Linked DNA regions of Homo sapiens: region 1 is linked to region 2. Evidence: promoter capture Hi-C in human tissues and cell types (Jung and others, 2019). All regions are on one chromosome and are shown on one strand. The core of a region is centred on a gene start or on the middle of the fragment in contact, and the rest is flanking DNA. Distances in the headings are between cores, read along the strand shown.

Region 1 (4,854 bases), core at 2,022-4,521, 42 kb after region 2:
AGAGTGAGACTCCGTCTCAAAAAAAAAAAAAAAAGTGAGCCAACCTGAATGTCCATCAACAGATGAATAGACAAAAGGTAGAATATACCTATGGTGGAATATCAGTTAGCCATGAAAATAAATGAATTCTGATACATGCTACGACATGGAAGAACCTTGATAACATTCTGCTAAGTGAAGTAGGCCAGACACAGAAAGACAAACTTTGTGTGATTCCACTGATTGGAGGTCCCTAGAATAGAAACATAGAAACAGAAGGTGGAATAGAGGGTGCCAGGGCTGGGGGAGGGGAGGATAGGAGTCAGTGTTTAGTGGGGACGGAGTTTCTGTCTGGGGTGATGGGAAAGTTCTGCAGATGTGTAGAGGTGATGATTGCATAATTTTAGTGCCACTGAATTGTGCACCTAAACATGGTTAAAATGGTAAATTTTACATTATATGTATTTTGTCATAATAAAAAATGTGAGTCAATTAAAACATTGATTTAGGCCAAGTGCAGTGGCTCACACCTATAGTCCCAACACTTCGGGAGGCCGAGGCAGGAGGTTCACTTGAGTCCAGGAGTTCAAGACCAGCCTGAGCAACACAGTGAGACCCCTGTCTCTACAACAACTTCAAAAGAAAAAAAAATAGCCAGCATGGTGGCATGTGCCTATAGGTCCCAGATACTCAGGAGGCTGAGGTGGGTGGATCACTTGAGCCCAGGGGTTCAAGGCTCCAGTGAGCTGTGATTGTGTCGCTGCCCTCCAGCCTGGGTAACAGAGCAAGACCCTGCCTTTAAAAACTTAATAAAAAATTTTAAAACATTGATTTAAATAAAAATGCCAAGTAGGTAATAGTGTTCCTGCGTACATCTGTGACAAAGGAAGTTTGAGAAACTGTCAGGTGAGCTTAGAGGAAAAGGGACCAGCTGCTGGGCAAGATGTCAACAAAGCTCTGGAAGTGGACCCCTGAATTTGCCAAGGGGAGGAAATGGGGAAAGACAGTCCAGGCAGGGCAGGGAAGTGGGGGCAGAGCATGCCATTGCCCTGGTGGCCGCTGTGGTGGCTGGGGCATCCTGGGAGACATAGTAGGGTGCTTGAGCTGCTCCTGCTGAGGGATAGCTGAGCTGGCTGGGAGCTGCTCCGGGGAGTGCCGACTCCCCACCTCCCTGACCTGCCTCCTCCACAGGGACCAGAGAAAGTCAGGGGCTGGCAGGAAAAGCCACCAGATGGGCACCCCCACCATAGGGAGTGCTGCGGGGCTACGGCAGGGGCCCACAGTGTTGGTGACAATAGTGGAATTCCATCCCAACTCATTTCAGGCATGGAACCACCTCTCAGCATGTGAGGTGGGGAAGAAAGAGAGGAAAAGGGTCAACTTTTTATTTATTTATTTATTTTGAGACAGTCTCGCTCTGTCGCCCAGGCTGGAGTGCAGTGGTGGGATCTTGGCTCACTGCAACCTCCGCCTCCCGGGTTCAAGAGATTCTCATGCCTCAACCTCGCAAGTAGCTGGGATTACAGGCACCTGCCACAATGCCTGGCTAATATTTGTATTTTTAGTAGAGACGGAGTTTCACCATGTTGGCCACGCTGGTCTCATCTTAACAGGCAGGCTGCTCTGCCCGCTGCTCCCTCCATGGTTGAGTGTGAAATAGAAGCACAGCCCCTCCTCCCTCGGTTGGCCTCGGGGCCCTGGTTTCTCTCACAATGCAACCACCTTCCTGCACTGGGAACCACTCTAGTGTTTTTAGTGTATATTTTTCCTACCACTTGACCCCTGAACACAAACCAAAATGTCACCCAGTCCTTACCCATAGAAACTGGCCATGTCCCAGGAGTTTGAGACCAGCCTGGTCAACATAGTGAGACCCCATCTCTAAAAAATAAAAATTAACAATAAATAAACAACAATAAAAAATTAGCCGGCGTGGTGGCACACCCCTGGTAGTAGTCCTAGCTGCCTGAGAGGCTGAGGCGGAAGGATCACTTGAGCACAGGAGGTCAAAGTTGCAGTGAGCCATGATCACGCCACTCATTCCAGCCTGGGCCACAGAGTGAGACCATCTCTCAAAAAAAAAAAAGAAAAAAAAAGAAAGAAAGAAAAAAGAAACCGGCTATGTTACTGTTATGGGAGACACTGGGGTGGGGTTGTCTCACATGGCGCCTCCATAAAGGGAGTCGGTGTCTGCTTTGGGGCGCCTCCCCACGCTGCCTTGCCCTTCTGTGGCTCCGTCACACTTGCTGTCGCTGACTCGAGGATTGCTCATGAGTCCAGCTTCACGGGGATCAGCTACAAGTTGCTTGTGTTCTCTATGGAATCCCAGGGCCTGGCACTGTGAGACCCACAGTAAATATCCATCAAACAAAGGAAAGAGCACATGCCCAGTGCCCCGCCCTGAAGCACAAGCCTTACCGGCATTCTCATTCAGTCTCAGTCACCTGAGGAGACAGGCTTCTTACTTATTTTTTTAAAGCAAGGTTGCTCTTATTATCCCCATTTTATAGAAGAAGCAGTGGAGGCTTGGGCTACATAACTTGCTGCAGCAGACACAGTGGATGCCGCACCTATATGCCTCCATACAGCCCTCAGCCAATGGTGGCGAGGGCTGGCATATAAATGCCCTGGCTCCCCCATCCATCTGGGTGCAGCCAAGTGCTGACTCCCAGAGCTGCTCAGAAACAGACCTGCTGAGGGCCGGACGCGGTGGCTCACGCCTGTAATCCCAGCACTTTGGGAGGCCAAGGCGGGCAGATCACGAGATCAGGAGATCGAGACCATTCTGGCTAACACGGTGAAACCCCATCTCCACTAAAAGTGCAAAAAATTAGCCGGGCGTGGTGGCAGTCACCTGTAGTCCCAGCTACTTGGGAGGCTGAGGCAGGAGAATGGCGTGAACCCAGGAGGCAGAGCTAGCAGTGAGCCCAGATCGCGCCACTGCACTCCAGCCTGGGCGACAGAGGGAGACTCCGTATCAAAAAAAAAAAAGAAAAAAAAGAAACAGACCTGCTGAGAAACAGACCCTTTACTGGTTCCTTCCTGCCCTGCTCTTTCCTGTCTCCCGTGTGGTGCTCTCTGAGATCCCCTCTAAACACACTTGGATTCGTGTCCTTGTCTCTGAGATGGCTTCTGATGGAGCAGCTCCCAGGGTCAGACTGTAGATCTAAACACAGGAGTACTCCCTCAGCGCCCACTCTTCGCCCCATGCCACCCTGAGTTCACTCAGTGACCCTCAGATTTCTCCAGCCAGAGCTTCCAGGGCTGGCTGACTTTTCCATACTCCCTGGGAGCACCATCCAGACTTGTGAATGAGGAAGCCTGGAGTTAGAATTTTAAGCAACTATAAGGGACTCTTTCTGCATCCTATTCCAGAAAGACAGTTATTCCATTCCTATTTTTCCAAAACCTTTGGAAGAGCAAAAGCTTGGCAGTCCCCTCTACTTTTTCCAGCTATTTCTGCCTTTCACCAGACCTAACTTGAGATTTCCTCTTTAGAACTCACAACCAGGTATCTTCTGCCCACTGATGATCAGAGATGGGACCATCCTGGTGCCTGTAGAGCCTGAAATGAGCTGGTCCCCAAGTGAATCCTGCAGAGAGGAATATTACCAGAAAGAAACGTGAGCTGGGCAGCAAGCTTCCGTTTGCCCTCTGCACTAGCCCCAGCTAAGTACTCCCTTTTCATTCCGAGGGCAGAGGTGAAATCAGCCTCCCATGCCTCCTTCACTGGGCTTTGCCCCGGGGGTGGGCTGGTCATGGTGCCCAGTGACCAGCTGCCTGAACTGCCCTGGCCTTCTCAGGCCAGAGTTGAACTCAGGTCCCTTCTTGCTCCACAAAAGCAGAATCTTTGTGTGTGTGTGTGTGTGTGTGTGCATTTGTAGAGACAGGGTCTCACTCTGAGGCAGGCTGAAATGCAGTGATTTGATCATAGCTCACTGTAACCTTGAACTCCTGTGCTAAAGCGATCCTCCTGCCTCAGACTCCCTCACCTGCTGGGATTATAGGTGTAAGCCATCATGCCCAGCCCCATGTACACATTTTAAAATAATAAACTGAAACCCTCTTCTACCCAAGCAGCAGCCACAGATGGTCAATTAAAACGCAGGGTAAGATCAGGCACAGTGGCTTACGCCTATCATCCTAGCAGTTTGGGAAGCTGAGGTGGGAGGATCACTTAAGGCTAGGAGTTCGAGACCAGCCTGGGCAACATAGCAAGACTCCATCTCTATGAAAAAATTAAAAATTAACTGGACATGGTGGTGGCACCTGTAATCCCAGCTACCCAGGAGGCTGAGGCAGAATGATTGCTCGAGCCCAGGAATTCGAGGCTACAGTGAGCTATGATTGTGCCACTGAACTCCAGCCTTGGCAACAGAGCAAGACTCTGTCTCTAAAACAAAAACAAAAAACCCAGGGTAACCCCTATAGTTGCAAATGCCTCCGTAGGCCACCCTTTTTTTACCTTGAAGACTGAAGTGGAAGCCAGCACCATGTCTCACCCACCTAAGAGGCCTCAGGGCTCTTAAGGAGTCCCTCTGATCCGTCTCTGCACGCCCTTACTGGTCCCTCCAACCTGCTCCCTTCATGGCCTCTAGGACAGTGTCCTCCAAATGCAGAGCTGATCACATCAATCCTGGCTAAAACTTTCCAGTGGCTTCCCTGACTATCAGAGTAAAATCCATCACACGCCCACTGCCAGCCCAGCCCAGCCCACGATGACGGGCCCCTGCTGATGACACCTTTCAGATGCCCCTGACTGCCATGCCCGGCACTCAGGCCATCTCAATGTTCCTGGAATCTGCCTTGGGTCCTTTGCCCTTTTAGGACTTCAGTGCATCCAGCGAGCCTCAGAGGAAATGTCCCCTCCTCACA
Region 2 (4,724 bases), core at 2,033-4,532:
AGAAGGACAAACACACTGCGGGGACAAGGGACCCCACTCCAGAAGGGAGGTTGTGTCCGTGAGTGGGAAGTGAGACCACCCCAGCCCCCAGAGGCCAGTTTTATTTTCAAAGCAGCAATGCCTGTGCTTTCAAATCACACTTTCTGAGCATCCATTCGAAATTGTTGTATTTCTGTCTTTCCTTCCTGCTATGGACTTTCACATTTCCGAGATCAACTACAAATTACAGTCAAGCGACTTTCACAGCAGAATGCTCGGGGCCGGGGAAGTCCACAAAGCCTCTACATTAGCCCTGACACACAGCAGTGGAGGCAAAATAAAATAAAATAAAATGTAAAAGACACCGCTGTTCCTTAAGAAGCACTTTCAAGCATCTTTAAAGGTGAAGACCTTGTCGTTTCAAACACTTGGTGTGGAGCTGTCCACACTCAAGCACACACTTTTGAATATTGCTTAAGAGAAGGGGCGGGGCGGGGGGGGAGCAGTTCTTGAAAAGCAATAAATCCCTCACCTGCTGGAACTCTTATCTATCCAAATTATCTTCTCTCTTAATTCCTCCCTTGATAAGTGGCCACATCTCCACCCTCTTCACCCCAGTAAACAGAATAAAAGGTAAAATGGTGAGAGACAAGGGTTGTAGCTGCTTTTGGAAAATGCAAAAAGCCATGGGAAGAATCAGGGGGTCTCTGACTCTGCGGACAGAAAGGCTCTGTGTGGCTGATATTTACAACACCGAGTCTCGAAATGCCTCCACTGGTCTCCTGTTCACCTTGCTGCCTTTCTCCTACCAACCTGCTTGAACTGTCTGCTACACATACACACATACACATTTGAGAGAGGCACTCACTAAAAATCATTTCAAGGCTCATTTCATGAAAGGCTGAAGACCAATTCTTGAGTCCTTCTCAGAGATCCACAGAGTGGTTTTAGAACTCGGTTCAAGCAACTTTGAAACACCCACCCATCTGTTCACTGCAAACTGCTCTCCTTTTGCTTTCTGGGTCTCGCCGTCTAACGTAAGGAGGTTTGGAGAAGTGGATTGGAAGTCTAGGTAAGCAAGCTTTGCAAACTCAAAATCAACTGCCTGAGTTAAATAAAACTGTTTTTCCAACCAGAAATTCCAATTCCACATTTTCTTCTGGGTCGCCTCTTAAGTGGCTCCTGAAGGAGTGAGCAGTGAGCCAGGGAAAGAGAAAAGAAATCCAGTATTATTTCAAGCCGTACAGCCCTTCCATCAGCAAAAGAGAAACATCCACCCTTCTTTCCCGTCCTCTTCTTGGAGTCTCTCTTCTGGTTTCCCTGTCCCCCAATCAGAACACCCTCTGAACCCCCAGTTCTGTGGAGCAGGCCAGGCTGTCCCGGATTGGGAGACCAGCCAGGGTGAGGCGAACAAGACCAACTTCTCTCAGGGAAAAGGAGGAGTAGGAACGGGCCGGGCGCTCCGTTTGGACTCAGTTGGTCTCCTTCTAATATGACGGGGAGGATCTCTGCTGGGCCGGGGGCAGTCCCTCCGGGGACTTCAGGAGGACAGAACTGACGAGTGTCTCAAGATCCTCCTTGCCAGATTCAGTTCCAGCCATTCCAGCCAGGCGCAAGGCTGGCAGGAAGGGAGCGGGGCCCCAGCGCCTTCCCGCGCAGGCCTCCAGGAAATGAACTTTTCAGAGCAGAACTGGGCTCAGGCCAGAGGTCATCAGGGGAGATGGGAGAAGACAAGGGCCTGGGGGCTTTTGGCTCCGTAGACTTAGCCGCTCTCATCGTTCCCCCCTTCCTCGATCATCTCCCATCTCACAGCCGAGCGCCCGGGCACCCAACCGAGGGGCTAGAATCGGGACAAAGCAGCAGGCAAGGCCTGGAAAGGCCAGCCGCGGGGAGAGGAGGCCAGGGGAGGGGCTCTGCTGCCGGCGCGCGGCCTTTCCCCGGGGCCTCTACTCTCCAGGGGTCCCCTCGAGCTGGGGGCCCTCGCTGGAAATAGAAAGCAAAGCGTGGAGACGAAGGGATGGGTGTGTGTATCTATATATCTGCAGCTCCCCACAAACGCGCGCACCCCGGGGAGCCAGCACAGAAAGCCGGCCTGGGTGTCGAGGGTGCCGGTGCCCGGGGTCAGATCCAGGGTGCCGGTGCCCGGGGTCAGATCCGGGGCGCCCTCCGCGGAGGGGCGCGCACCGCGGCCGCTGAGCTCCCCTGAGGACCTGCGTCCCGCCGGCGCCGTGCAGACAATGAACTCCTGGCGGAGGCTCCCTGCCCGGTGGGCCTCGGTGGAGGAGGCAGGAAGTGCAGGGGCCCGGGCCGGGAGAAGGCCTGGGCAGGGGCGGGAGGGGGCGCCAGGCGGCCGGGGCGAGGGCGCGGCGCCCGGGGCGCTCGCCGACAGCGCCCGCCGCTCCCCGCGTCCTCGGGCGACCAGGCAGGGGCCAGAGAGAGCCAGCGAGGCCCGGGGCCAGCGAGGAGCGGTCGGCCTGCCGGGCGCCCGTCCTCGCCGCCTCTTCCTTCCTCCTGTCGCCCGCCCGCCGCCGCCGAGATTCGCAATCCCCGCCAAGTCGGGCCAGCACCCCTTGATTGGCCACACGGGCCCGGGCCCCGCACGGAGGGAGCGGCAAGGGCCCCTTAGCGGCGCCCCCAGGCCTGGGTCCCCCAAGGGCGACGGCGCCGAGTCCGGGCAGGGAGGGTGTCCGCGGCGTACCCCCTCCGCCGCCGCCGCCGCCGCCGCCGCCTCCGCCTCCTGCTCCCGGCTTCCTCCTCCCCCTCCTCCGCCTCCGCCTCCGCCTCCGCCTCCTCTGCCGCCTCCTCCTCCTCCTCTCGGCTCGCTCGCGCGGGTCCCCGGCAGCCAGCCCGCTCGCCGGTCCCTCCTCCCTCGCTCCCTCCCTCCTCGCTCGCTCGCTCGCGCCTCCGCCGGGCCTCGCTCGCTCACCTTTCACCGAGCGCGGCTTCGCCTGCTTCCGCCTGGACATGTCCGGGGCTCCGGGCGCTCCGTCGCCCTCCGCAGCCGGCTCCCCCCGCCGCCCCCCGCCGCTCCGGGCAGCCCTTCTCCCCCTTCTCCTCCGCCTGTCTCTTGGAAACTTTTTTTTTTGCAGCCCGGTTGGCGGCTGTGGGGAGCGGACCGCAGGTCCGGGGCGGCCTCCCTTGGGGGGGCAGCCCGGGCCGGCCGAGGCCGCTCGAAGGCGGGGGGAGGCCCGGGGGGCGCGCCGGGGCCCTGCCTGTTGCAATGCGGCAGTCCGGGGCTCCCGATCCAAGCGGCGGTCCCAGCGGCGCGGGGAGTCCGGAGGCCACTCGGCCGAGCCGAGTTATGCAAAAAAAAAAAAAAAAAAAAAAAAAAAAAAGCCGCCCCCCTCCTCCTCCCAACCCCCCGCCGGCCCCCGGCCCCTGCGGCCCCCTCCTTCCCTCCCCCACCCTACCGCCACCCTCACCCTCCTCCTCCTTCTCCTCCTCCTCCGCCCCTTGCCGGATTTTTGTGCAAAGTTTGCAGGCGTCCGGCCACGCAGCCCGGTGCGGAGCTCACAATGAACCCATCTGAGGAGGGGGAACGGGGCTGGAGTCGAGGGTATCTCAAGGGGGGAGGAGACCGGGAGGCGGTCGGGAGCGCGGAAGCTCAGTACCCCCCAGGAAAAAAAAAAAAAAGAAGCCTTCGAATTATCCCCTGCCGCACAAAAAAAAATAATAAATATTAATGGCTCAAAAATGCCCAAGCGCCTGGTTTGGAGATTATGATGGATGGGGGGCGGGGGTCCCTCAACTCAGCCTACTTGGAGGGGAGGCTCGAAACGGCCGCAGTGGCTCGGAAGCCGCGGCTCGGGGCCCCTGGCTCACGCCCCCTTCTCTGGCTCTCGGATCGGCCCGGCGCCGGCCCCCCGGAGGAGGAAGGGGCGCGCGGGGGCGCTCAGGCGGCGGCCGGCAGGCGCGCCCGTGCCCCGGGCATCGCTCAGCCCGTGCGCCGGGCCGCCGCTGCCTGCCCTCGGGCTGCGGTGCTCAGCGCGAGGCGCGCAGCCGATCCCCAGGCCGGTGCCAAGTCGCCGGCCCCGCTAGCTGCCTCCATGGGCCAGGGGCTCGGAGAGGGGGGAGGCGGCGGCCGCGGTGGCGGAAGAGGAGGACGAGCAGGCGGCGGCGGCGGCGGCCGGGCTCCCGTCCTCCTGGGCAGCGGCGGCGGCGGCTGCGCCCCGGCTCCTCCGCGCTCCAGCCGGCGCCGGCCCGCCCGCCAGCCTCCCTCGCGCTCCTGTCTTCTTTGTGGTCGCTGGCTCTCCTCCTCCCGATCCGGCTGCTGGGGCTGCACTGCAGAGACACATAATAAAGCCAGGCTTGGCTGGAAATGTAGCCGGGTCCCAGCAGGAGGATGTGAGGAGCGGAGTCCCGGCGGGGGAGCGCTCTGATCCCGTGGGGCGCCCCGCACTGCTCCGGCTCGGATCAGACGGAGAGAGGGCCAACAGCACCGAGCGATGGACAGCGCTGGAAATACAGCTCCGGCCGCCCGCAAAACCCGGACCGTGGTGGCGGCGGCGGCGGCGGCGGCAGGCACGGCGCGGGCGCGGGCACCGCACCAGCACGCGGGGCCGGGGCTCGGGCGCTGGCTGCACCGGGGGCAGGAGGAGGGAACACACTTAGGGCCCACGCGGCTGTCAAGCTCGCCAAGACGCATGAGCCTCACAAACTGTAAAAAGTGAAAGAATGGGGGAGCAAACGGAGTTGGGCTGCCCTAGTATTGCCACCTCGCGATGTATGCCTCACGCACATGAACT

The links. Contacts are between HindIII fragments. The study calls those that stand out against the background at their distance.
Region 1: a contact is called between a fragment that was not itself captured here and the fragment with the promoter of ZNF423 in region 2, in 1 of the 25 tissues and cell types used here (lymphoblastoid cells).

Annotation. Positions count from the first base shown.
Region 1 is chr16:49,894,456-49,899,309 of GRCh38, forward strand. No RefSeq gene overlaps it. Among named protein-coding and RNA genes, the nearest start is that of ZNF423, 41 kb to the left of the region's middle. The HindIII fragment of the contact is 4,838 bases long and covers 853-4,854 here.
Region 2 is chr16:49,852,830-49,857,553 of GRCh38, forward strand. ZNF423 (zinc finger protein 423) reads right to left here and starts at 3,283. Exons shown (of 8, transcript NM_001379286.1): 1 at 2,906-3,283. The coding sequence starts at 2,945. RefSeq lists a silencer at 2,527-2,786. The HindIII fragment of the contact is 13,140 bases long and covers 1-4,724 here.